Regions from separate parts of the Homo sapiens genome. Here regions 2, 3, 4, 5, 6 and 7 are each linked to region 1. Evidence: promoter capture Hi-C in 16 types of primary human blood cells and fetal thymus (Javierre and others, 2016). All regions are on one chromosome and are shown on one strand. The core of a region is centred on a gene start or on the middle of the fragment in contact, and the rest is flanking DNA. Distances in the headings are between cores, read along the strand shown. Region 1 holds the start of RPP30 (ribonuclease P/MRP subunit p30). Region 2 holds the start of IFIT1 (interferon induced protein with tetratricopeptide repeats 1). Region 3 holds the start of PANK1 (pantothenate kinase 1). Region 4 holds the start of KIF20B (kinesin family member 20B). Region 5 overlaps KIF20B (kinesin family member 20B). Region 6 overlaps KIF20B (kinesin family member 20B). Region 7 overlaps KIF20B (kinesin family member 20B).

What was found. Contacts are between HindIII fragments. The CHiCAGO score rates a contact against its expected background, and 5 or more counts as called.
Region 2: a contact is called between the fragment with the promoter of IFIT1 here and the fragment with the promoter of RPP30 in region 1, in 1 of 17 cell types (non-activated CD4 T cells). The highest score is 5.1, in non-activated CD4 T cells.
Region 3: a contact is called between the fragment with the promoter of PANK1 here and the fragment with the promoter of RPP30 in region 1, in 8 of 17 cell types (M2 macrophages, M0 macrophages, non-activated CD4 T cells and 5 more). The highest score is 12.3, in M2 macrophages.
Region 4: the fragment with the promoter of KIF20B here is called in contact with the fragment with the promoter of RPP30 in region 1 in 13 of 17 cell types (total CD8 T cells, naive CD8 T cells, naive CD4 T cells and 10 more); the score reaches 8.9 in total CD8 T cells.
Region 5: a contact is called between a fragment that was not itself captured here and the fragment with the promoter of RPP30 in region 1, in 2 of 17 cell types (M2 macrophages and naive CD8 T cells). The highest score is 5.1, in M2 macrophages.
Region 6: a fragment that was not itself captured here is called in contact with the fragment with the promoter of RPP30 in region 1 in 1 of 17 cell types (total B cells); the score reaches 6.2 in total B cells.
Region 7: a fragment that was not itself captured here is called in contact with the fragment with the promoter of RPP30 in region 1 in 2 of 17 cell types (total B cells and naive B cells); the score reaches 6.9 in total B cells.

Annotation. Positions count from the first base shown.
Region 1 is chr10:90,870,181-90,873,942 of GRCh38, forward strand. It overlaps RPP30 (ribonuclease P/MRP subunit p30), which reads left to right and starts at 1,794. Exons shown (of 11, transcript NM_006413.5): 1 at 1,794-1,888. The coding sequence starts at 1,807. RefSeq lists enhancers at 1,632-1,926, 1,645-1,914, 2,045-2,104. The HindIII fragment of the contact is 10,238 bases long and covers 1-2,205 here.
Region 2 is chr10:89,390,808-89,394,569 of GRCh38, forward strand. IFIT1 (interferon induced protein with tetratricopeptide repeats 1) reads left to right here and starts at 1,816. Exons shown (of 2, transcript NM_001548.5): 1 at 1,816-1,910. The coding sequence starts at 1,906. It also overlaps a transcript of LIPA not described here. RefSeq lists a silencer at 651-812 and enhancers at 1,365-1,414, 1,645-1,694, 2,496-2,545. The HindIII fragment of the contact is 1,915 bases long and covers 216-2,130 here.
Region 3 is chr10:89,643,161-89,646,922 of GRCh38, forward strand. It overlaps PANK1 (pantothenate kinase 1), which reads right to left and starts at 2,082. Exons shown (of 7, transcript NM_148977.3): 1 at 1,440-2,082. The coding sequence starts at 1,731. It overlaps PANK1-AS1 (PANK1 antisense RNA 1), which reads left to right and starts at 954. Exons shown (of 5, transcript NR_184344.1): 1 at 954-1,039. RefSeq lists silencers at 856-905, 1,606-2,085. The HindIII fragment of the contact is 3,186 bases long and covers 1,195-3,762 here.
Region 4 is chr10:89,699,469-89,703,230 of GRCh38, forward strand. KIF20B (kinesin family member 20B) reads left to right here and starts at 2,122. Exons shown (of 33, transcript NM_001284259.2): 1 at 2,122-2,212. RefSeq lists a silencer at 1,644-1,723 and enhancers at 1,768-2,283, 2,284-2,800. The HindIII fragment of the contact is 4,302 bases long and covers 1,625-3,762 here.
Region 5 is chr10:89,717,519-89,721,280 of GRCh38, forward strand. It overlaps KIF20B (kinesin family member 20B), which reads left to right. Exons shown (of 33, transcript NM_001284259.2): 11 at 58-204; 12 at 1,192-1,354; 13 at 1,901-2,188. Among named protein-coding and RNA genes, the nearest start is that of KIF20B, 18 kb to the left of the region's middle. The HindIII fragment of the contact is 2,350 bases long and covers 460-2,809 here.
Region 6 is chr10:89,740,401-89,744,162 of GRCh38, forward strand. KIF20B (kinesin family member 20B) reads left to right here. Exons shown (of 33, transcript NM_001284259.2): 22 at 3,408-3,527. Among named protein-coding and RNA genes, the nearest start is that of KIF20B, 41 kb to the left of the region's middle. RefSeq lists an enhancer at 684-1,185. The HindIII fragment of the contact is 847 bases long and covers 1,381-2,227 here.
Region 7 is chr10:89,757,338-89,761,099 of GRCh38, forward strand. KIF20B (kinesin family member 20B) reads left to right here. Exons shown (of 33, transcript NM_001284259.2): 27 at 1,369-1,545; 28 at 3,189-3,299. Among named protein-coding and RNA genes, the nearest start is that of KIF20B, 58 kb to the left of the region's middle. The HindIII fragment of the contact is 3,836 bases long and covers 271-3,762 here.

The DNA of each region.
Region 1 (3,762 bases), core at 544-3,043:
TGAATATGCTAATTACCTTGATTTGTTCATTATACAACATATACATGTATCAGAACATGAAATTGTACCCTATAAATATGTATAATTACAATGTGTCAACTAAAAATGAAAAAATAATTGAACTATCACCTTATTCACCTTCACCACACATTGGTCATATTTCTGACCAATCTAGATTGTTATGGTCATAGGTGATGATGCCTGTGTGACCCTGCAAAATTAACACTAGATATTCTCATGAAAAACAAAGCGTTTGCTTCATATGACCTTATTCTATTTGCAGAAGTAATATTCTCTTCTACTCCCACTTAGGAAATATCAAGTACTGGAAAAGGCAAAATATCTCTTCTTTACAAAAGTTAACCAAGAAGAGAATTGCATGCTACTGCATGGAACAGATCCTTCCTCCCTTCTGAGACCGACAAGAAAATCGCATAAAGGAGTACTAGTTAAGGTGTGGTCCATAGACGAGAGACTATCTGTGAACTGTTTGTGATCAGTAAATAAGAGAAATTGATGGGTGAAGCATGTGGGTGGGCTCCTGTAATCACAGCTAGGAGAGAGGATTGCTTGCGTTAGAGTCCATCCTGGTCAATAACGAGATACTCTCTCTAAAAACAAAACAAAACGAAACGAAAACTCAGCAGGCCACCAACTAGGATACTCCCTAGGTCAAATGACCGAGCCTCTAATTCTGTGATTGTTGTTGCTGTGCGCACGTTAATAAAACAAACAAACAAACAAAAAGTGAAGATGTTTAGAAAGTTTACAGTACTTTGGCATTGTCCTGATAATCCAAGCTCCTGATCAGCAGATTCTATTCAGCCAGGTATAGGGCAGTTCGAGTGTTGTCAAATTTGTGATTCCCATGAGGCCAGGCTGCTTACTGGTAATGCATAAAGGACCACATCCTGGTTCGCGAAGAGTTTGGGGGTAGAGGAAAAGGAGGGAGAAACTGATCCTTCATCACAGGTAGTTTGAGAGCACTGATGTAAACTATAGTCACACTTTTGTAGTATAATTGATTATTATCCTCAATAGATCATTTACACTAAGTCGGAAAAAAGTGGAAACATCAGATATGTGGGATATGCGTCACCTTGTACATTTCTCAGCTGGAAAAGTGTAAAACATCTCAATTTTGCACCTCCCTTTTCAAACATGTCTTTGGCTAAATCAATGTTGGCTCTAACCGCTCGTCCTAGAGCGAGTCCCGCCATCTTGTGGTTGAAGATGTTGACTGCCACAGAGAATAGCGGGCTTTGACATCAACAGTTCTGATTGGGTAAAAAGACCCTCGTCTTGGGGTAGTTCTCTTTTGAAGTCCTAGAGTCCGTCACACACAAACGCCTTCTTCCCGGTAAGTCCATTGTAAACAACGGAATGGACTTTAGGGAAAGGAAAGGAAAACGTGTTCTTTAAGACTCTTTAAATAGCGTTTTCACCCATTAGCAGAATTCTCTGATTCATGAGCAGCACTAAGTAGATACCGTGTGCGTGCATTTTGAATGAATTCATTTCTACACTATTTTATAGGAGTATTGAATAGTTGGGAATTGGAACCCCTCCAGGGGGAACCAAACATTGTCGTTCAGAAGAAGACAAAGAGAGATTGAAATGAAGCTGTTGATTTCAACACACAAATTCTGGTGGTAGATGAAAGCAAAGCAAGTAAGTTTCTCCGAATCCCTAGTCAACTGGAGGTAGAGACGGACTGCGCAGGTTAACTACAGCTCCCAGCATGCCTGAGGGGCGGGCTCAGCGGCTGCGCAGACTGGCGCGCGCGGACGGTCATGGGACTTCAGCATGGCGGTGTTTGCAGATTTGGACCTGCGAGCGGGTTCTGACCTGAAGGCTCTGCGCGGACTTGTGGAGACAGCCGCTCACCGTGAGTTGCCCCGGCTTCGCGCCTGGCCAACCTCATGCCACCCAGACCATCGGGCCACACTCCGGAGTAACTATTTCCTGATGGGTCTCGGTCAGGTCTCCCAGAGTCTCTGGGATGTCCCTGGAGGCTGATGCCCGCCGAGGTGTTGGTCTGATTCCTAGCGCGGGAAACTCGAAGGTTCTGGGGGTTGTTATCTGGTTCAGCTACTTTCCTGCAATGAGGGAACTGAGGCCTAACGAGGGCGAGGGATTTGCATAGGGGCCTACAGCTGATAGGTGACAGAAGCCGGAGCTGGACTCCAAGGGTACAATCTTCTAAGCTTCTAAGTTACTATCAGCCCTTCCTGATTCTCACGACAGTGTCTAAACAAATACTGGAATTTGGGGCACGGACAGGAAGCGCCGTGGAGGCTCGGAGAAGGAGGAGGACGTGGGAGTGTTGGAACAATACTATCTAGACAGAGAGAGGGTAGGTGGGGGCAGAGGACATACACAGCGGAGTGGAGGTGGAGGAGGAGGATAGCATGGCCCAAATCGAAGGGAAGCGAAAGCCTTGAGAGACGAGAACCTGTTTTAACTATTGGAGTTAGTCATGGGTTCTGTATTCCGTAGACTGTAAAGTGTTGGAATAGAGAGATTAAAAAGAATCAAGAGGTTCGTGTAGTAACATCTGCTCCTCAGAGACAGTTTTCAGCTCATTGTGAGTTCTGATTACTGATACTGTTCAGAGGTGGTGCTAGAAATGACAACCACTTCTTGGCAAAGTGAATCACACCACTTTTTTATTGTTCTCTTTATGAAGTATCCGTGGCGAAATGACTGTCCCTTTCCACTGCTGCCACTAAATGAACGTTATCTCTGTGGTACTTTGCTCATCAGCACGAAGACGAAAGTAGACATGATGATCTGGGCCATTTGGCGCTAATGTTCTTTGATCCTGTAAAATAAGTTTTCCTAGGTGTAGTTTGTCGCAATTATTACCTCCTCAATGAGGCTTTTCCTGACGCCATCCCATTTTTGAATAAATCATGAGCTTCCTAAGAGAATTGCCATGTCTTATCCTTTTATTTACTGTGCTTAACACGTTCACTCTGCAGGCACCAGTACATGGCAGTTACTCAGTTAATGCTTGTGGAATAAACTGAACACATTAAAAAAATTAATACAAAAAAGAAAAGTTAATAATGATTTCTTTAGAGAATTTCCCCCAGTTTAAAATACACTTGGAAGAGGTGTGGTAATATATGTACATTGTTAGTGGTTATTTGTTTGTAAATTAAATGGAATTCATGGCATATAAAGTTGCCTCAACTTACAAGTCAAAGACAAAGGACTGCTCTGCTATTTGATGAGTCTGGAACTAAATAGTGGACATTTGCAAAGAATAGGAAAGACAGAGCCCTGGTTCTCAGTTTCTGATGTGATACAAGAAACCAATAATAAGCTTCAGAAATATACTGTGTAAATTAAAATACCCTAAAGCCTGATTGGGGAAGTAAGTACTCCTAAGCTGCCAGATGAGGAGTAGTCTAGGAAAAAGTTTTGTGGAGAAACAGATCCTAGTTGACATTTCTGTAGAACGGTAGGGACATTGTTTAGTAGCCAAAAGGATATCCTAAATGGGTATAACAAGGAAGTTTAGAGCAGATTTGGGAGTGTGGTAAAGAAGAATAGGGAGGAGGTGTGGCTGGTTGATTTGACTAACTGGGTGCAAGGTGAAGCCCAAGGTACAGGCATACTTGTGATTTTTTTTTTGTTTTTAAGGGTAACTTTCTTCAGGGAGCCTTTTGTGACCCCTACACCAGGTTTCACTGTGCTATGTACTTCCATAGAATCCTTACTTATAAAAAACATGTATTTATATACAATGACTTG
Region 2 (3,762 bases), core at 566-3,065, 1.5 Mb before region 1:
CATGCTATCTAGTGCATTGGCAAATTGAAAACCCATTTTTTCCCATAAGAATTCCAAAGACATCTTGCTCCCCAAAAGATGTTTTCTAATTCATCTGTTTCAGCATTTGCTTATGGCCTGATCATGTATCTGAGTGCAAGACAAAACCTGTCCTATTAATTCAGAAATTCTTATTTGTGTAGAACTTTCTAACTAGTTGTTGAACTCTCTGTGGAAGCTTACAGAATTGGTGAGAGCTGACATGGGAGATGAGTCTGGCAGGGAGTTGAGCAGAAACTGTTTAGATCTGGCAGTGTGCCCAGTTAAGTGTTTCCAAAAGGAAAATACTCTTGCACCTGCTCCTCTTCTGCTTCTTATGTTAAAAGACAAAGTAGGTAGGTTTTTTTAAAGGAAACATTGTTTTTATATATTGTTATGATTATTTGAGACAGGGGCTCACTCTGTTGCCCAGGCTGGAGTGCAGTGGTGTGACCATGGCTCACTGCAGCCTCTACCTCCTGGGCTCAAGTGAGCCTCCCACCTCAGCCTCCTGAGTAGCTGAGACCACAGACACACACCACCACACCCAGCTTTTTTTTTCAGTTTTTTTGTAGAGTTGGGGTCTCCCTATGTTGTCCAGGCTGGTCTACAATTCCTGGGCTCAAGTGATCCTCCCGCCTTGCCTTCCAAAATACTGGGACTTACAGGCCTGAGCCAATGCACCCGGACAACAATTTTTTATTTTTTATTTATTTATTTTTTTAGACGGAGTCTCGCTCTGTCACCAGACTGGAGTACAGTGGTGTGATCTCGGCTCACTGCAACCTCTGCCTCCCAGGTTCAAGCAATTCCCCTGCCTCAGCCTCTCGAGTAGGTGGGACTACAGGTGCACACCACCACACCCAGCTAATTTTTTGTATTTTAGTAGAGAGGGGGTTTCACCATGTTGGCCACGATGGTCTCCATCTCCTGACCTTGTCATCCGCCCACCTTGGCCTCCCAAAGTGCTGGGACTACAGGCATGAGCCACCGCACCCAGCCAAGAATCATTATTTTTAACTTGATGACTGAAAATAATAATAATAATAGTTACCACTTATTTGCATGCTTCTATGTGCCAGGTAGTTGCTAACTATTTAAACTCAAATTCCATGAACTGTAGTGGAGGTTGTACTGGAATTTGATTCAGAATGACAGTGTCCATGATGGAGCAATAGAGGGCTCTCTATTTCAAACCATACCTCCTTGCTTTTACCTCCTGCCTAAGTCATCAGGGGTTAGAAGGCTTTCTAGGTATTGGTCTCTTTCCTTCATTCCTAAACCAGATTGGTTGCTTATTTCCGTCAAGCTGAAACCAAAAGTAAGCAACCAAAAAGCAACCAGCAACCAAAAGCCTTGTTACTCAATTAATTAAGAGTAGATTTTTATATTTGATAGTAGGTTCCTTCTAAATATAGAAACTGAAAATAGAGCTATCTCCTTCAATTCTCCTTTTTCTGTGTATTCATCCAGAATCCAGCCACCAACTGCCACAATAGGCAGCAATGGACTGATGTTCTTTAGGGAGGACGTGAATCTCGTTCCAAATGCTGGCCAGTCATTGGGTTTCTGCAGCACTAGAAACATCTATGGTTGCAGGTCTGCAGTTTATCTGTTTTAAAATAGAAACAAAGTTTCATTCCCCACCCCCCCCCGTCAGCAGGAATTCCGCTAGCTTTAGTTTCACTTTCCCCTTTCGGTTTCCCTAGGTTTCCAACTTGCAAGGACACACCCACAGCTTACACCATTGGCTGCTGTTTAGCTCCCTTATATAACACTGTCTTGGGGTTTAAACGTAACTGAAAATCCACAAGACAGAATAGCCAGATCTCAGAGGAGCCTGGCTAAGCAAAACCCTGCAGAACGGCTGCCTAATTTACAGCAACCATGAGGTAAGGATTTCTTTGCTCCTCTGCCATAATGTCTAAAGTTTTTGAAAAAATGGTAATTAAATACTATTTCAACAGGTTAGATCTCAGTGAGGTCAGGTTTTCTAATTCCTCGATTTGAGTATCTGCTTATGGACTGAATGTGTGCATGCATGTGTGTGCACGTTCACACATACATAAATTGTTTAATGCATTTTTATGTTTGTTAGCATGAACTTGAGGAAGCTTACCTCATGCTATAGCCCAAAGAAGGGGAGGGAAATGGGAAAAGAGTTTTGCAGGAAGGGAGAAAATGATCCCAATCTGAGAGATTCTTTCCCATCAGATTCACTTCTGTCTGATATGGGGAAGGAATGGACAGCTTGTCTGAGTAGAGGCATTGCTTTCTGCAGGTTCTTTACCACAGAGAAAAAGCAGGACCCACAAGAATGTGAAAGCCTCAGTCTTGCAGCCTCTCTGATGTCTTGTGGGTAATACAGTGGAGATGTGGTAGGAAAAGCTCACAGCCTTCCTCCATAGGCTTCTGGTCTCACTTTCTGCACTGCTGGCCTCTTACAACAGGTTTTCGCAATCAGGCTGAGCTTAAGATAAACAGATTGCCTCCTCCCTGGAAAATCTAGGCTCTTGGTACGTCCTTGACTGAAGATGATCCACATCTGCTTGGGAAGATCCGTATCTTCCTTACCTAAAGGGCCTAATGTGGGAATTTCTCAGCTGATTTAAAAACCATTACTTAGGCCGGGCAAGGGGGCTCATGCTTGTAATCCCAGCACTTTGGGAGGCCAAGGTGAGCAGATCGCCTGAGGTCAGGAGTTGGAGCCCATCCTGGCCAACATGGTGAAACCCCATCTCTACTAAAAATACAAAAATTTGGGCATGGTGGCACATGCCTGTAGTCCCAGCTACTTGGGAGGCTGAGGCAGGAGAATCACTTGAACCTGGGAGGCGTAAGTTGCAGTGAGCTGAGATTGTACCACTGCACTCCAGCCTGGGCAACAGAGCGAGACTCCGTCTCAAAAACAAACAAACAAACAAAAAATCCATTACTTAATACTGATTTGTAAATTTTCCCCTCAGTGCTCCAGTTGGCAAAATTTTGAAGAGGTAAAAATTCCAGAAAATGCACATTACAGGCCTATGATGAACCCTCCTCTGTAAACAGATGGAGTTGGTACTGATAATTAAAATAATAATAATATTAAATGTTATAAAGGTAGTTATCACTTCTTGAATTCGTATTAAGTGACAGCCTGGCTTCTAAAAGTGTTATGTAAATTATTCCATTTAATTCTCAAAAGATACTTATAAGGCAGGTACTTACACAGTCATGCATCGTGTAACAATGGGGATACACTCTGAGAAATGCAGCTGTTAGGCAATTTCATCATTATGCAAACATCAAACCTAGACGGTATAGCCTACTACACACCTAGGCTATAAACCTGTGCAGCATGTTACTGTACTGAATACTGTAGGCAACTGCAATACAATGGCAAGTATTTGTTTATCTAAACATATTTAAACATAGAGTACAGCAAAATTGTGGCATTAAAATCTTATAGGACCACCACCAAATATGTGGTCCTTTGTGGACTAAAATATCATTATGCAGTGCATGGCTGTATGATCCTGATTTTACAATAAGGAATCTTAGATTTAGAAATGTTAAGATCACACAGACAATAAGTGGTAGCTTTGAGATATGGATCAGGATCTCTACATTCAATGATATTTCATTAAACCTTTAAATCAATGTTTCCCAAAGGGTGTCAGTGGGGGCTCATGTGATTATTTCAGATGGCAAACTCATTTGCTTTTATGTTTTCCTGCTTTTATGTTTATGTCAATATGTACT
Region 3 (3,762 bases), core at 832-3,331, 1.2 Mb before region 1:
TATTTTCATTGCAAACTCTAGTACAATCTGTCAATGTAGATAAGAGAAATAACTGAAGTATAGCTTCAAAATAAGTGAAACAGGTTTATAAATCACAGGTAATCAATATTAAGTCCTGACTTTTAAAATATTAATACTAATGAAAGTCATTTTCTAACAAGTATCAAAAACAAAAGCAAATAAAAATTCAGGTGCTAGATTACAACCTTACACCTTACAACTGTAGCCAAATCTGCTGTTTGGCTTTAAAGTTCCACACAAAATCTTAACCTACAAATTTAACATTTCAAACCCACAAAATACAAGTACCAGAGTCACCCACAGTCATGTCAAAGGGCTTTCCAAGGTCTTAGAAACCTTAATCCAATACAGAAAAGCTAAGAGTCAAAAAGACATAGAAACAGGGAAAAGTGAAGGTGTTATTTGCCAAACATTAAACTTTCACAGAAATCCAAAACCTACTTAACAATTTCCCTATATCGAACAGCATAACCTCTATGCAAATGCAGTCATTTATTAGCATTTACTGTACTTACTTTGCTTTTTGCCATTTATAAGCTTCATTAAAGACACCCACAAAGAAGTAACCAGTTGAATGAGCTTCAGTCAAGAAAAACCAGCTGTAAACTCGACCTACAAATTTACATCCCACAGCGTCCTGTGGGGAAGGTACACTTTACAAACTACCATTATATATACAAGCTTTAGATTGTGAAATAATGCACTTCGGCTTTCTCCGGTGTACATTACAATTACAAACCCTCAACTCAACCTCCCCCTTCGTTGAAAAAAAAAATCCACCTCCAATCCTCATTGGTCCACATAGTTCCGGCCCACATGGTATCAGTGGGTGTGTCCCTCCCAAAAAACCCTCTCATTGGCCGTGAAGAAACAGCTTCTAATAGGCTGTGATTTTGGGGGGTAGTTAAACTCCACGCCTCCAGACTTGCGCTCTCCAATAGACCCGAGACGCTGCTGGCTACTCTGTGATTCAAAGGGCAGGCAACCCCAGTAGGACGCGCTCAGAGAAGCGAGAGGGGTGAGAAAGGAGAGAGCACCCTCGGTGTGCCGCCCACTTTATCCTCACTCCTGGACCCCAGCAAATGTTCACACACCTGCGTTTTCCCAGCCACCAATTAGAAGGGCGGACAGAGCGTTCGCTTATTATATATCCTTGACCTAGGGACCCGCTCAAGCTTCGTGTCCAATCCTCGTTCTACTGATAGAAGCGAGCAAAGGGCAGGCTCAGGCAAAGACCTGTAGTGCTTGATGTCCCCTAGGAAAAGAATCAGTCCCGGGAACCTACTCTGTGCAGTCCCTCGACCGCAGACGCGGGGGCGCACGGGGCGTGCTGCGGCGCCTGCCTCAGCCGCTCCCAGTCCCGGGCCCCGCACGCTGCGTCTGCCTTGCGCCCGCGCTCCCCTCCCAGCGGGACTTACGCGGCCTGTTCTTTCTCCCCGAGTCCATCCTCCTCCGCAGCCGGCATTTCTTGGCCGGGGAGTCATGCTGAGGGAGCAGTGGCTGCGGCTGCAGCTCCGGCAGGAGCGGGAGGCGCTGGGGCGCCGCGTCGCTGCCGCCCACTGGACCCCGGCTGCAGACGTGCGGCGGCTGGACTGGCGGCGGATGGAAGCCGTTGTGCAGCAGCCCGTTCACAGCGGCGGCGCTGGTGCCCACGGGGGCCCCTGGAGAGTGCGGGACCGAGCGCTCCTGCTGCCCGCTGCGGTCGCCCATGCCGGGGGCTGGCGGGGCTGTGCGCGGGCCCCGGCTCAGGCGGCCTCGCTGGAGGTCATTCTCCGGCGTCTTTATTTCCCCGGATCCTCCCTGCGGCTTCCGATTCAGCAGCCGCAGAGCCGGCGCCTGGGGATGGCGAACCCGGCGCTCCTCCCCTCCTCCTGCCGACTCCCCCACCTCCTCTGCGCCCTGCCCCCCGCGCGCCGGCCCCACGGCGCCGGCCTGGAGCACGCCAGCCCCGGGCGCGGAATCGGGGATCCCCGCGCACCCCCAGCCGGGGCTCCCGCCGCCCGCCTTCCCCTGATCCCCAGGCCGCGCGACTTCAAACGCGGCTTCCTCGCCTCCCAGACTGGTCCCCGCCACTGAGCATGCCCAGTCCTGCCCGCCACCGCCACCGACGAGTTTCAACATGGGGAATCAAGTTCTCTGGGCTTGCAGAGAGGAGATGGGCGGGTTGGGCTTTGTATGGCGATGTGAAAACCAGATGGGTCTGGGAGAGACAGCGAAAGGAGCGAACCGTTTCAGGAGGAATACGGGAGGAAGACAATTATTTGCAGAGGTGTCAGGTTTGCTAATCCTGTCCCCAGTGAGCAAGATACCTTTGCAAGGTCATTCACGTTACCCTCCCCGCTTTGTGAGTGTGTGCTTACGCGCGCGCGCGTGTGTGCCTGTGCGTTTGGTTAAGTGACCAAACTACTTAGAGGCCTGAGGGGAGGGAGAACAATTATTTATAGAAAAGTTGGCAGACTTGGGGAGGGAGGGGAGTGAAATTTCTTTGCTGGCACGCACACACACTCAAACACCATGTGGTCTCATGGAGTTGTCTTTTGCAGGGAGGAAACCTAGGAATACAGTGTAAGGACAGTGAAGGACAAAACTGTAGGCAGGATTAATCGGTGCTGAAAGAGATCAAGTAAACAGGAGCAATTCCATGCTATAAAAAGCACTTTCCTCACCCAGAAAGGACTTCAAAAGACAATGTCATGTTATTTATAGAGTAAGGAGTTGCCTCTTCTAAGAAGGGAAGGCGGCATCACGTGGTGACCAGCACTACGAGCTTTGGAGTTAGCACTGGGTTCAAATTCCAACTCAGCCACTGAGCAAACCCAGATAACGTTAATGCTCAAGGTAACACTTCTAGCAATAGGAAACGGGACTGTCCATGCTCACTATGCAGGACTAATTTGGGTGGTGAATACCTTCCCAAAGTTATGCAATCTCTTGAGGCCTCACTTTCCTATCCATAATGGGGCTGTTGTGAGAAAATCTACTAAAAGTACCTGGTACAATCCTGGCACACAGTAAATGCTCAGAAAGCTAGTTTTCCTTATTACGCTATTATGATTAGCAGTTCACCCTTTGTTTCGACAGGGGAACAAACCATGCTTACAGCCGTATTTATTGTGTGATTTATTTTGTGATATTCTCCGTGATTTGCAATTAATCTACAGAGGAGTCAGAGTCTGGCAGGTGCTGGCTGGCTACTGGGTTGCTGGGCCCCTGGGCTTCAGTGCATTCAGCAGCATCTAGGGCTTGCATCTGGCAATTCCTTCCAGCAGAGCCTTACCTAGAATCAGAGCTTGAGAACCATGGGGGCCACTGGAGCACTCTGGTCTATCCACTCTTGCATACTTTTTTCGTATCAGGAAACTGAGCTGCAGACAGATGGCTGAGGTTATTAAGAGCAAAGGTGGGACTAAACTCCAAATCTCAACTCTCTTAGCTTCCCTAACCTTATGCTATTTAAAGACAGAGAAAAAAACCCAGGTGATCTGGCCCCTCCCTACCTCTCCTGCCTCATCAGGGGCTCCCTGTGCTGCCTTCAATTCCTTAAACAACATTCTGCTGTTTCCATTGCCTTAGAGAAGTCTCTTCTCTAAGACCTCTTTTGTCTACTAGACTCCAACTTTAGATCTCCTCTTTAACTTCTCATATTTAGAGAAATGTTCCCTGACCCTTAGGGCTACATTAGGTCTCCCTGCCATACCCTCTTCCTACTCCTTGTACTCTGTTTATGACTCCTTATCATTT
Region 4 (3,762 bases), core at 872-3,371, 1.2 Mb before region 1:
CCTAAGGGAAAAACCCAGCAGCTGGTGCTGAAATGAAAAACGTCGGAAAAAGTACCTTTAAAATCTGGATACTTTTCTGCAACTCCTCTGCCATCTTCCAAGTCCACATTATCATTATCTTTTCCTGGGATCTCTTGCAACAGCCTCCTAACTGGTTCAACAGCATCCTCCCTGGCTGCCTCTAGTTTCTCCAGGAGATTAACCTTTTCAAAAGATAGATGCACATTGGATTGCACCATGCCCATGCTTAAAACTGGTTATCCAGTAAGCATTTCGTAATACTCAAGTCAGTAACTTGGCTAAGGCTTACAGGGTCTGGCCTTGGCCCATGCCTACAGATTCACTCCCCTGACTCCTCCCCATGGTCTCTACCCAGCCACATCAGCTTTCATTCATTGTTCAACAAATATTGATTTGCTTGTCTTGTGTTAGAGAGTCATTGAGGATACATTAGCGACCAAACAAAACACAGTTATTCTACTCACAGAACTTAGATTTTACAGGGTGGGGGAACAACAACAATTGCTAGTTGTAAAAAGTATAAAAATGAAATTGAACCTGCAAATAAAAAAAGAGTGCTCACTTGAGATACAGTAGCCAGGAAAGTCTTCTTTAAGAAGGTACTATTTTAGACGTAACCTAAATGATGAAGGGAAGTGCCACGTGTTGAATGGAGAAGAGAGAATTTAGGTACAGGGAACAACCCATGCAAAGGTTCATACATGCTGGAAAGAAGTTGGTGTTTGAGGTATCCAGAGCAGATCAACTTACTGTACAGTTAGTGGGGAGTGAGGTCGGCTGACACTTGATTGTGCAGGACCTGGGAGGCCATGGTAAAGATCAGAATTCTATTCCTTTTCCCCCCTCCTCTTTTTATTTTATAAAATCTGTTATTTTAGAAAGTTGCAAGACTGGTACGATGTACACCATTATACCCTTCAACTAGATTCACCAATTACTAATATTTTGCCACATTTGCTTTCTCTATTTTTTTGCCATATCTTTTGAAGGTAAGCCGCAAACACTGTGACACTTTGCTGCTAATTACTTTAGCAAGCGCCTTCCAAAAACAAAGGCATTCTTCCACTTAATCACAAATTAATTCTCACATGCAATCAATTTAAAACTGATTCAATATCATCTAATATGTAGTTCATATTTAAATTTCCCCAGTTGTCCACAAATGTCTTTCGAAGTTTTTTTTTTTTTTTAAAAACTATGAACCAGCCAAGATTCACAAATTTCATTTGGTTTCTTTTGACTCTCGACTAAAGTAATTTTCCACTTCGTTTTTTTCTTTTTCCTGTCATGACACTGACATTTTTGAAGAGCCTAGGCCTGTTGTCTTGTAGAATATTCTACATTGTTTTTTTCTGATTGTTTCCTCATGATTAATGTCAAACATTTCTAGCACAAATACTATCGGGTGATATTAGCGATGCTAAGTATCTTCACTTGGTTAAGGTATGTCTAATAAATCTCTTCAGTGTAAAATTCTATTTTCCCTTTATAATAAGAAATGATCTGTAGGGTGATTCTTTGAGATACTAACATCCTCTTCCCTACAACCTTTCAGTTAATTGTTTGTTTTAGCATCTTGCATTCATTAGTTTTAGCATTCATAAGCTTACCTATATCAATTTTTAGACTGGCAGTTGCACAATGGGGATGCAGCGAGGGAAGTGACCCTCCGGATCCCGGGATGCCGAGCCTTTTTCTGCCCCGTAGGGACAGGACTGGGAAGTGGCTAGCCCGCCATTCCTCGGCCCGTCCTTAGGGGAGTCGCAGGACTAAGTGCAGTGGCAGTGGCCTCACCTCGGGCCTTCGCCACATCTTTATTGCCTCAAGGACAGAATTGGAGATCGGTGTCCCAGTCAACAGCGTGGTACTTATGACAGCCGCGAGAAAGCGCACTACTAAAGCCCGGCTAGCAGAGCTGGGAGGCAAACCAGACCGTCAGCACCAGGGCGGCCCACGCCTGCTTCCGCCCATTGGCTGCCCGCGTTTCAAGACCCGCCCCCATATTGGAGAGCTTCTTCCGGTAGCCACTGGAAAGCCCGCAGCGCGAGCCGGCTACGCTCCCTGGCGGAGCTCTGGACGCCCCACCTACTCCCAGCGTTCAGTGCGGTGCCCTGGCCGCCATTGTTTGAATTTGAAAACGGTAACATCGCAGTGCTGCTCGCGGGTCTGGCTAGTCAGGCGAAGTTTGCAGGTGAGGAGGTGACCCGCGGGAATGTGTGGGGAAGGAGGTGGGTGACTGCGCATGTATGGGGCCTAAGGTGGGGAAACGGCTTTGGCAATGTGGACATGTTCCGACAGGGCTCATACCCCAGTGGAGGTTACTGTCAGGAACTGGGTTGCGGAGCGATGCGAACACGGGGTACGCAGCGAGGAATGAGTCATACTAATTCGGTTACGGTTTAAATCTCGCCTCCACTGCTAATTAGCTGAGTGACGCAAGACAATTCATTTAATCTCTCTCTGTACCTTAGTTTTCTTATCAGTTAAAAGGCTGCAATGAAGTGTCTATTTCTTTCGGCTTTTGTGAAGATTAAATGGTAATGTGTAAAGTTATTAGTGCTGGCACACAGTAGGTACTAAATGTTTGCAGTTATTAATATTATTATTGTTGTTGCTTCTGTTGTTGTTGAGGAACAGGCCTGTTTTGCCACACCTAGTTTTCTGAAGCTCTGAGGTGAGCAGTTTGCTCGGCTGGTAGGTAACACGGCCTTTTTGCGGGGGGAGCCCTGTGGTAGCCTCTGTGCACTTATTTCCAGACTACTCCTACTGGTCCTTGGGGCTTGCCCTTCTAGGGTTTTGCAGTGCCAGGCTGAAGAGTTTGTGGCACAGTGACTGCTGTCATTCCCCAGTTTAGAAGGCTTTCTCCATCTCGATTCGCTCGCTGGTTCAGTGATGCATGTCTGGCACAGTTCTCTTATATTTCTTGCTAAACTACTAGTTTACAGAAGTTCACGCCTTATGGGTTAGGTAGTGTAACAGTGTATTTATCTTACATGTCCAAGACTCCAGATTTTAAATTGTAAAAATAACATAAAATACTCATCGATTAGTTGTGAAGACTTTTTTTGAGGCTTTGTGTTGTAGACCACATTCAGAAACCTCATTCAGCAACAGATTCTGCTATTTTTCACCAAAGTCTCCAATTGTGGATTCTTATTGGAGAGAGGGTAAATATGCAGTTTTCCAGTCAGAGCAGCCTTTTGAAATGAAAAATGAGGTCTTGGAGCCTGCTGTCACGAAAGATAATATTACAGACTAGGACCGACTTTTTTTTTTTTTTTTGGAATAGTATTTTCTTTATAACCATTATTTTAAGTCATTAGGTAGTCTTTATCCCTGCATAAGTCGCTGAATTTGTTATAGGGGATACAGAGTGGTATAAGGCAAGGTTCTTGCCATCAAGAAGTTTCCAGTTTAGTTGGGAAGGCCACGTATAAGTAGAAGTCATCTAAAATCGCAAGAAGTTACAGTAAGTCTGAACACTTTTAGAAATGCTAGGAAGTAGTTTGTTCATTGAAAAATGAGCATATGAACAAATACTTTATTATAACTGCTTTTAGTACATAGGAATATTCTTTTTAATTCAGCAATTTAAAAGATTTATCAACACTTTTCTTTAAACCAAAAATTATTATTTGAAGCCACAGGTGTTTTTTAGTTTTCTGGGCATTTCCATGAACTCTGTGTTATGAAATGTCAGGCCGGTACTTTAACGTTTTGCAGATGCTCCCCCCTCTGCAC
Region 5 (3,762 bases), core at 385-2,884, 1.2 Mb before region 1:
TAATTATTTGTAATTGTTTTGAAGAACTTTTAAAGTACTTTTTTTTTCTTAATTCAGATTATCTTTATGTGATCTTGCTGGTTCAGAACGAACTATGAAGACACAGAATGAAGGTGAAAGGTTAAGAGAGACTGGGAATATCAACACTTCTTTATTGACTCTGGGAAAGTGTATTAACGTCTTGAAGAATAGTGAAAAGTCAAAGTAAGTGTTTCTGAAAGTGTTATTAGCATATTAAATATTACAATATTTAAACTTTCAACTTTTTTGTTTTTAGAAAGTTCTTTTTTGATTTTTAAACTGCTTCTTATGTAATGACTGTGTATAGATTGTGATTCAAGTACTTAAGAGATCTTGGATTAAAGACAATGATAGAAATGTCAGTTGATGCCAGTAACTCATCAGGTAAAGTCAGTATTTTCCATGGCAAATCTATACCAATAGACACTGTAAATGAGAAGCTTCTAATGCTGGTTTAGGATCTAAAACCACTTTATTCTTATTAATGCATTGTGTGTGGTTCTAGATGCAATAGATTTTTACATTAATTAGCATTTTAGGCTGAGTAAATATAAATCAGCCTTCACCATTTCTATTTAGGGTGTTTCATGACATCTCTTATATACTTGCTCTATACTAGGGAACATAACCCAGTTAAATGTGGTTTTCTTTATAATTTACATAGTGGGTTATTGTTAGTAAGTAGCAGCAGTTAAAACAAACAGCCAGGCATGGTGGCTTATGCCTGTAATCCCAGCACTTTTGGAGGCCGAGGCAGGAGGATTGCTTGAGCCCAGGAGTTCAAGACCAGCCTCATCTCTACTAAAAATAAAAATAAAAAAATTAACCAGGTGTGGTGGCAGGCACCTGTAATCCCTGCTACCCTGGAGGCAGAGGCGAGAGGATCGCTTGAGCCTAAGATGTTGAGGCTACAGTGAGCTCTGATTGTGCCACTGTACTCCAGTCTGGGCAACCGAGCTAGACCCTGTCTCAAAACAGAAACAAAAACAAAAACAAACAAGAAAAGATAAAAAGAAAACTGAGAAGGACTATTACATCTGAAACTAATCACTACCCTAAAGTTTAATTTCATGATAGGTGGCTTAATTATTTCTTTGTAAAATGTCTCAGCACCCTGATTTCATGAGATGTTTTTTAACTTACAATGTTTTCTGAAAATTTTTTCTGTAGGTTTCAACAGCATGTGCCTTTCCGGGAAAGTAAACTGACTCACTATTTTCAAAGTTTTTTTAATGGTAAAGGGAAAATTTGTATGATTGTCAATATCAGCCAATGTTATTTAGCCTATGATGAAACACTCAATGTATTGAAGTTCTCCGCCATTGCACAAAAAGTAAATATTTATTTTATTAAGCCTCTTATTATTAGAATATTAACAGTTTTTCTTGAAATAAATATTTTTTACTTAATACTGTAAGCCTAGGAAATAATTGAAAATTAAAAAGGTAAATATTTAACCAAGTAGGAAGACATGAGAAAGGATTGAAAGTTGCCCATGCTAGGATTAAAATGACCTTTAGTAATAAGAATTAGTAATAAACATCAGTTATAAATTAATGAGTATTTTTGGAATGAATTGTCTGCTCTGCCATTCATCTTGTTCATTTGGTACTTCTGGGTGATTGGAAAACCCTCTGCTAAGATTAATACTGAACACTTAGCCCAGGAAGATAGATTTTTCCTCTAGTTTACATGTGTAAGTAGCTTTTTTCCTATCAGAATGTTCTTTTAGGGATGGTGATTCCTGTTTGTATGTTTGTTTGAATAGTTTTTCCTTAACACTTGAGTGTTCATTTGACTTAAATTTATAAAATAATCATTTTCTAGTGGACAGTTCTTGTCTTTTCTGTTTTAAAAGTCACATTGAATATTTTAACAGGTTTGTGTCCCAGACACTTTAAATTCCTCTCAAGAGAAATTATTTGGACCTGTCAAATCTTCTCAAGATGTATCACTAGACAGTAATTCAAACAGTAAAATATTAAATGTAAAAAGAGCCACCATTTCATGGGAAAATAGTCTAGAAGATTTGATGGAAGACGAGGATTTGGTTGAGGAGCTAGAAAACGCTGAAGAAACTCAAAATGTGGAAACTAAACTTCTTGATGAAGATCTAGATAAAACATTAGAGGAAAATAAGGCTTTCATTAGCCACGAGGAGAAAAGAGTATGTATTAAGAACTCATACTTCTATGCTTGTCTTCTTATTCTGAAGTTAAGGTTAAATCTTAAGGCTCTCTCTCTTCAGTTTTTTTCAACAGTACACTGAAGTTTTTGTGTTCAACTTTATATTTTGAAAAATTTCAAACCTATAGAAAGACTAGTACAATGAATACTCATTTATCCTTCACCTGGATTCTCCACTTACCATTTTATGAGTATGTGAATACACATCTTTTGGTCTGTACAATTTGAAAATAAGATCCAGACATAATGACACCTTACATCTAAATATTTGAACATATTTTTCTAAGAACATGGGCATTTTCATCATGATCACAAGACCATGAAATTTTCATACCCAAAAAATTTAATATTGATACACTAATATAACCTCGTATACTGTTTGTATTGAGAGTTCCCCAGTGTTCCAAATATGTTCTTTATAGCCACTTTGTTTTTGTCTACAGCCAGAGTTAACACATTGCTTTTGATTATTGTGTTTCTTTAATCATTTCTAATCTAGCACTGACATTTTTGAAAAGTGGGTCCTAGTTTTCTCATAGAATACCTGCAATTTAGATTTGTTTGATTATTTCTTCATGATTTAGGTTTAATACATTAGGGAAGCTTTTTATGTAGGTTAAGTTGTAAATTTTCCATTGCATCACACCAAGAGCCACATGATGTCTGATTTTTCCATTCTTAGAGATGCTAAGTTTTGCTCACTTGGTTAAGATAACAGTATTTCAGATCTGTATTGCAAAACCATATTATCTGTGGGGTGTTACTTATAGACCATGTGAGTATCCTTTCACTAAGTGATTTTATGTATTCCATCAGACCTTTATTTTGCAGTCTCAAGTACAAGTGTTAAAAATATCTACCAAGTACCTATGATCCCATATCTTCAAAAACACTAATTGTTTGTCGTCTTGTTATTATGATAAATAAATAAGATTTAACGGTTGTTTTTTTAGCTTCTGTCCAATTATAGTATTTATTTATTTATTTATTTATTTTTGAGAGAGGGTCTTGCCCTGTTGCCCAGGCTAGAGTGCAATGGCACGATCTCGGCTTACTGCAACCTCTGCCTCCTGGGTTCAAGCGATTCTCCTGCCTCAGCCTCCTGAGTAGCTGGGAGTATAGGCATGCGTAACCATACCCAGTTAAGTTTTTTTTGTATCTTTAGTAGAGATGGGGTTTCACCATGTTGGCCAGGCTGGTCTCGAACTCCTGACCTTGCGATTGCCCGCCTCGGCCTCCCAAAGTGCTGGGATTATAGGCATGAGCCACCTTACCTGGCCACCTATTCCCATCTTTAATTGGCCATAACTCCGTGAGTATAGATGGAGTCCTCTTACCAGTGTCCTACAAACACTAGTAGACCTGTGTTCATGGGTGTGCTTTAATGGTGTTGACACATCACACATCACAGTACTCTTCTGGATTGCAGAAGTATAAGTAGAACGATGATGTATTAGGCTAAATACTCTCATTTTAATAATTTACCTTCATGTCCCTGAAAGCAATTATTGAACATATGTTTGGAAACAAGAATGATAGCTTCAGATGTAGTAC
Region 6 (3,762 bases), core at 554-3,053, 1.1 Mb before region 1:
GTACCACCCTCCTAAGACCTCAGTGTGCTCACCAAGTGGGACACTCTCTGAACCTCACTGTACAATAGTTCTCATGACTCAATCTCCAACCCTCCTCTCTTCCACAGAGTTTGGTGGGTGGGACTGAAATTTCCAACTCTAATCATTTTTGGTCTTTTGGTGAGTAGCCCTACCCTTAAGCTATTTCAAAGGAGCCTCCACTCAAAGCTATTTCATTAGCATAAATTCAGGTGTGATTAAAAGGGGGCTCTTTTTTCTAAGTTTATTTATTTTGTTTTGGGACAGGGTCTTACTCTGTCACCCAATCTGGAGTGCAGTGGCGTGATCATAGCTCACTGTAACTTTGAACTCCTGGGCTCAAGTGATCCTCCCATCTCAGCCTCCCTAGTAGCTGAGACTACAGGTGTGCCACCATGCCCTAGCTCCTTTTAAATTTATTGTATTGTTAAAGTCTTTTTTATTGCTACTTATAGAGGTATCTCTTTTCAAGTATAGATAGCAGTCCCCAGCCTTTTTGGTACCAGTGATTGGTTTTGTGGAAGACAATTTTTCCATGGACCAGGGTAGGGGCTGGCTGCTTTAAGGATGATTCAAACACATTACAGTTATTGTGCACTTTATATTATTATTACATTGTAATATATAATGAAGCAATTATACAATTCACCATAATGTAGAATCAGTGGGAGCCCTGAGCTTGTTTTCCTACAACTAGACGGTCCCATCTGGGGGTGATGGGAGACAGTGGCAGATCAGCAGGCATTAGATTCTCATAAGGAATGCACAACCTAGGTTCATTGCATGCAGAGTTCACAATAGGGTTTGCACTCCTATGAGAATCTAATGCCTCTGTTGATCTGACAGTAGGCGGAGCTCAGGCGGTAATGTGAGTGATGGGGAGTGGCTGTAAATACAGATGAAGCTTCACTCCCTTGTCTGCCGCTCACCTCCTGCTGTGTGGCCCAGTTCCTAACAAGCTATGGATCAGTATTTGTCTGTGGCCAGGTGGTTGAGGCTCCCTCCTCATATAGATGACTATTTAACATTACTCTAATGATGGGTATTAAAAGTATTTTCTATTTCTCAAATGTGTAGTTTTAAAGCAAATAATAATAATTATAGCAATTTAATCTAGGCCAGCTGCTATGCTGAGTTGACATATTATCTTAATCCTCACACAATATCGGGTATAGACACTGTTTTTAACTTCCATTTTGTTGATAAGAAAACAGACATTGAGGGATACAGTAGTCTCCCTTTACTGGCAGTTTTGCTTTCTGTGGTTTCAGTTACCTGTGGCCAACCATGAGCTGAAAATACTAAATAGAAATTCCAGGAATAAACAGTTCAATTGCAGGTCATTCTGAGTAGTGGGTCAAAAGCTTGTGCCATCCTGTCCTGCCTGGAGTTAGAATTATCCCTTTGCCTAGCATATCCACATTGTTAGTGCTACCTATTAATCACTTAGTCATCTCAATTATCAGATCACGTGTCATGGTATCAGGGACAGTGTTTGTGTTCAAGTAACTTTTATTTTACTTAATAATGGTCTCAACATGCAAAAGTAGTGATGCTGGCAATTCAGATAAGCCAAAATGTTGTTGTAAAGGGCTTCCTTTAAATGAAAAGGTAAAAGTTCTTAACTTAATAAATAAAGAAAAAAAATTGTAATCTGAGGTTGCTAAGATCTATGGTAAGAACAAATCTTCCATCTGTGAAATTGCGAAGAAGAAAAAAGAAATTTATGTTAGTTTTGCTGGTGCACCTCACTGCAAAAGTTATGGCCACAATTCATGATAATTGCTTAGCTAAGATGGAAAAAGCATTAAATTTGTGGGTGGAGGATGCAAACAGAAGTGTGTTTCGATTGATGGTGTCTGGGTTCAATACTGTCCACTGGGGATCTTGAAATACTATCCAATGTTTCAGGTATCCACTGGCGATCTTGAAACATATCCCCTGTGGATAAGGGGGAACTTGTCCTTGTCTAAGTTCACTTGTCTTAGTCTTAATAAGACTTGTCTAAGTTCACTCAGTAGTAAGTGCTAGAGCCAGAATGGAAACCGAGGCAGTCCTTACATGCATCTTTGTGCAGCACATAGCCTCTATTATTGTTAGTTATATAGTTGATGAAGATGGTGTTTATTACTTGAAGCCTCATTTTTTTAAACAAAATTAGCAAATATTATGAATATGTGATTATCATGTATGTATTATTGGAACATAAAGCTTAAAACAATGTAAGAATCCTCTGAAACCATACCACTCTGAGCTACTATAATAAGGGCATCTTCAAGCCTTTTTTTTTTTTTTTTTTTGGGCGGAGTCTCACTCTGTTGCCCAGGCTGGAGTGCAGTGGCGTGATCTCGGCTCACTGCAACCTCCACCTCCCGGGTTCAAGCAATTCTTCTGCCTCAGTCTCCCGAGTAGCTGGGACTACAGGCACGTGCCACCATGCCCGGCTAATGTTTTTTGTATTTTTAGTAGAGATGGGGTTTCACTGTGTTAGCCAGGATGGTCTCGATCTCCTGACCTCGTGATCCACTTGCCTCCGCCTCCCAGAGTGCTGGTATTACAGGCATGAGCCACCATGCCCGGCCTTCTCTATGCTTTTTATGGGGCATCTTTTCATTTAATTTCCTTCCGTTTTTGAGCTCTCTAGCGAGTGTGAAAATGGAGTTTTGGCAGTAAAGCTCCACAAGGGAATAGAAGAGAAGGCTCTGCTGCCAGTTAGATAACTTCCCTCTGGAAATCCTGGCAAGATGTACTGAAAGGTTTCAGAGGGGGTTGGTATGATGGAAACTAGTATAAGGATGTACCTATATTAGCTTTTTTGGGTGAGAAATTAATATATATATTAGTCCATAGTACCTCGATTTCCCTACGTTTATGGCATTAGATTACCGGCAACAGCAGAAATCAATTGACCTTCACTTGCGTGGGTACCTTTTGATTTTGTGATTGTTCCATTTTCTTCCCTGCATGTCATTATTAGCTTTTAAAGTTTTTCTTGTATTCCTGGATTATATTACTCAATAAACTTTGGAAATTTGAATCAGTATTTTTCTCTCAGAATATCTTTATTGATTTTTCCTTGGTAATTATTTCCCTATTATGTATAGATGTTATGATAATTCTTTTTTGAGAGAACTTAAAAAGTTTGAGATTCTTAAATAATGGAACAAGAAATTGAGTTTTTCATATGCATTCTTCATTAGAGTATTAAAACATTTTCTAATAATTTGAAGCTATAGTGTGTTTGATTTGTAGTATATTAAAATCTGTCATTTTTCTTTTAGGCTGTAAAGGATGTGAATCTTTGAACATAGTTGCCATGAATCTTAAATAACAAAAAGCAGTTAGTATTTTTAAAATATTCCATTTGTTTTATAAACATTATTTTGTAGGTATCTGTAATGCGTGATGAGGATAAATTACTGAGGATTAAAATTAATGAACTGGAGAAAAAGAAAAACCAGTGTTCTCAGGAATTAGATATGAAACAGCGAACCATTCAGCAACTCAAGGTAAACAGTTTTGTTTTTAAAGATGATTTAAATGCATTCTCTTGGTATATTTTAGTGTACAAAAAGGTACAAATTTGTTTTTAATAACATCCTGTTTTGACTTTTTCTAGAATCTAGAAATAAATTATTTAAAATTAAATAGGCAAAAAAGAAAAAAAAAAGATAAAATTAAGTAGGCCAGTAGTGACTCTCTTCTAATGAATAGACTATGGAAAAGAAAAAATAATAACTTCAT
Region 7 (3,762 bases), core at 939-3,438, 1.1 Mb before region 1:
TAGCTTCTTATTTGTAGGAATTCTTTATACTTTTCGGGATAGAAGCCCTTTTTGTAATGTGTTGCAAGTACCTTCTTTCTATCTCTAGTTTGCTTTTTCTTTCTTACTGCCTTTTTATGAGTAGGAGTTCTCATAAATTATTATTGTAGATATGGTAGATATTACAATTATTGTAGATAATTTTATTAGTATTATTGTAGATAATTGTCCCAATATTTTTCTTTATGAAGCCCAAGGACTTGAAGATGGTGTGTTATATTATTTCCTGAAAGCTTTGAAGTTTTTTATCTTTCATATTTAGATACTAGAATTGATTTTTGTGTTGGTGTGAGATAGTGGTCAAAGCTCTTGATGTTTGTTTTAATGTGAATTACCAATTGATGTGGAAATATTTATTGAAAAGACTGTTTCTTTCTCACTGCTGTGCCACTTTTGTCGTAAATCATTTGCCCACGGGTTAATTTTGTATGTGTTGTAAGATTAGGGTTGGGGTTCTTTTTTTTTTTCATTTGGTTATTCTGTTGTTCCAGCCCCATTTATTGGGAAGATTGTCCTTCCTTTTATTTAATTTTTTTGCCACTTTTTTAAGTCAGTTGACCATGCATTTGTAGATCGTCTCTTCTGTCCCATTGATTTCTCTGTCTTTACATGCTGTCTTGATTATTGTGCTAACTTGAAATTATAGATAATTGCTGTCATTTTGTTCTTCATTTTCAAAATAATTTTGAGTATTCTAGATGATTTGCATCTCCATATAATTTTTAGAGTCACCTTTTCCATTTCCACACACATTCACACATACCTGAATTTTGATAAAAACTGCTTTTACTCTCTAGATCTATTTGGAGGAGACATCTTAACAATATTGAGTATTTTGATCCTTCAACACAGACCAATCTCTCTATTTATTTAGGTGTTCTTTAATCTCTTTCAGCAGTATTTTATGGTTTTATACATTTTCTTTATCAGTATTTCATGATTTTTGAACCTATTGTAAATGGTCTTGTTTTCTGTTTTCATTTTTCTGTTGTTTGTTGCTATTACTGTAATTTTACCCACTAATTTTCCAAACGTTGGCAGAAATGTTGATACTAGTTTGAAAGCTATAGCTGTAATTGTGTATTGAAAGAAGTTACCAGTAAGCTGATTTTTGGAATGAGATGGGATATGGATAAAAATAACATGGACATTTAATTTATAAAATGATATGTGTTGTTTTATAGTTAAATATTTTATCTAGACTACTTAATTTGTCTTGTAATCTTGTTTGCAGCTATATTTATGGTGTTACATATAATAATTTCTAAACATTCTTAGATTCATAATATATCAAGGTTGATTTTAATATTTTCTTTATTTCCTGATTAGGAAATACTGACAGCCCAGCTGACAGAGAAAGATAGTGACCTTCAAAAGTGGCGAGAAGAACGAGATCAACTGGTTGCAGCTTTAGAAATACAGCTAAAAGCACTGATATCCAGTAATGTACAGAAAGATAATGAAATTGAACAACTAAAAAGGATCATATCAGAGACTTCTAAAATAGTCAGTAGTCTTTTTTGCTATGCCTTTTTAATTGAACATAGTAATTACTTAATTGACTAACTCTTAAAGAATAAAAAAGTGTAAGTCTCAATAGACCAAAAAGGAATCAGAGTATTTAAAATGTGGAAATTTTTCATGATTTAGAGTCTTGAAATTTATCATTAAGATTGATTTGTCAATCAATGACTGAGATGTAGCATTTTCTCCAATATTTTGGTTATATCTCTCAGTAATTAGAAAATATTAGTATTTCTAATTACTTTGGTAGAGTAATTAGAAAATCAACAATTTATGGTTTAGTCCCCAGTCTGCGTTTAAAATATGGAAATGTGATTCAACATGAACTCTTGGTGATTTTGAATACTTGGGCCCATCCTTAACTTTATTTTATAAAGATACAAATTATTTTGAAAGTAAGCCTAATGGTAGAGAGACATTATGAGTCATTCAGCTGTTACTTTTATATTACCTTGAGACTGGAAATCCTGAAAGAGGAGAGAATTGCCTTTTACAGATAGCTGCTTCCCAGTAAATAGAATCTGGGTACATCTGAAGCTAGTCTTTCTGGAATAATCTGTACTTAAAAATCTTCTGCTTTAAAGCCTTCAGACAATAGGAAAAATATGTATGTGTGTGTCACATCAAAAGACTATTATTGTAAGAGAGATTACTTGCTTTAAAAAGAGGTAGTATTGTGTTGTTTAATAATATATCCTAGAAAGTCAGAAAAACTAGGTATCAACTGCTGTCGCTGTGGTTTTGGGACCTTTGAGAAGAATTACTTAACATTTCTGATCTTTATCTAAAACAGGTAATAGTGTTTTCCTAACAGAGTTGTGAAATTAATGAAGATTGTAAAACAAGTAGCACAGTTCTTACTCCAGTGGAAATCAATATATGCTAGTTACTTTCCCTTTTATGAATTCAGTAGAGTCTTTCTTATTTGGCAGTAATGGGGAGGTGACATAAGAGGTTTACTTGACTTTTGATTTTGATGGCTGTGATGAGGAGGTCTGTGTTACAGTTTATTAAGTTTAAAAATGTAATCTATTTCTTTATAAATCGCCTAAGTAGAGTTTAGAAATAGAACTTTATGACTGAGAAAATAGGAGGAAGAATGTGCTGCAAGAAAAGATTTAGTTTTCCTTATGGTCTTTTGTACTGTAATGCTATAGTTGCATTCCTGAGAAGCCTCCAGTTTTTCAAAATTGTGTTATCAAAAGCAACTGTTGGGATACTGAGCAATTCTAACTCAGTACAGACCTTGACCATGCCATTTAACGTGTGTCGTTCTCTATTTCCTCATCTGGAAAGTAGGAATAATGATTTTTGCCAGACCTACCTGCAGAGTTGCGATGAAAGTAAAGCAAGAGAATGTGGGCAGAACACTTGGAAGTTGCAAGCAGTCTTTCAAATTTCTCCTTAGATCAGAGTCAATAAACTGGAAAGTGACCCAGCCTTTCCTGAGTATCTGAGGTTGAAAGAGAAATAGGAGGGCTAGGTGGTAATTAAAGGTGTCTTTACTTAGTAATTTCCATTGTTTAGTTTCATACAAATCTTGATTTTATATTCTTTATGTGAAGTTTTCTTCAATATATTTTCAGGTTACAATGCCCTGTTGCTTTAATATTTCCTTACTTTAGGAAACACAAATCATGGATATCAAGCCCAAACGTATTAGTTCAGCAGATCCTGACAAACTTCAAACTGAACCTCTATCGACAAGTTTTGAAATTTCCAGAAATAAAATAGAGGTGGGTATTTGGCAGCACAGTCCACTTATTTATTCTCTTTATCCACTATTACTAAATAACACGTACAAGTAAGTTGCTGAAGATACCTTACTGCACAATTAGCTGTGTGTGCTCTGGGCTGTGTGAAAGAAACTAGAGGCTTTTGAGGAGAGGTGAAATTCTTTTGGGAGATTATATGCCCAAATGATGTTAATCTCATCTTAAAAGCAGTAGATTTGTTAATAGAAACAAACTTGATGGTCAGAAATAGGAAATCCTACTAATGAGAAAATAGGGATAATTTGCTCTCATAAAAGGTTGCTTTAATAAACATTGTGTTAAATAGTATTTTTTGGAATTGTATCCATTTAGTAGCTTTGTCACCAGTCTTCAATAACAACTCGTGAGTTTCCTTAATTTGTATTGGGCTTAGGGTTCTGTGAATAACTTTGGATAATATAGAGATTCTTAGGTTGGATATGAA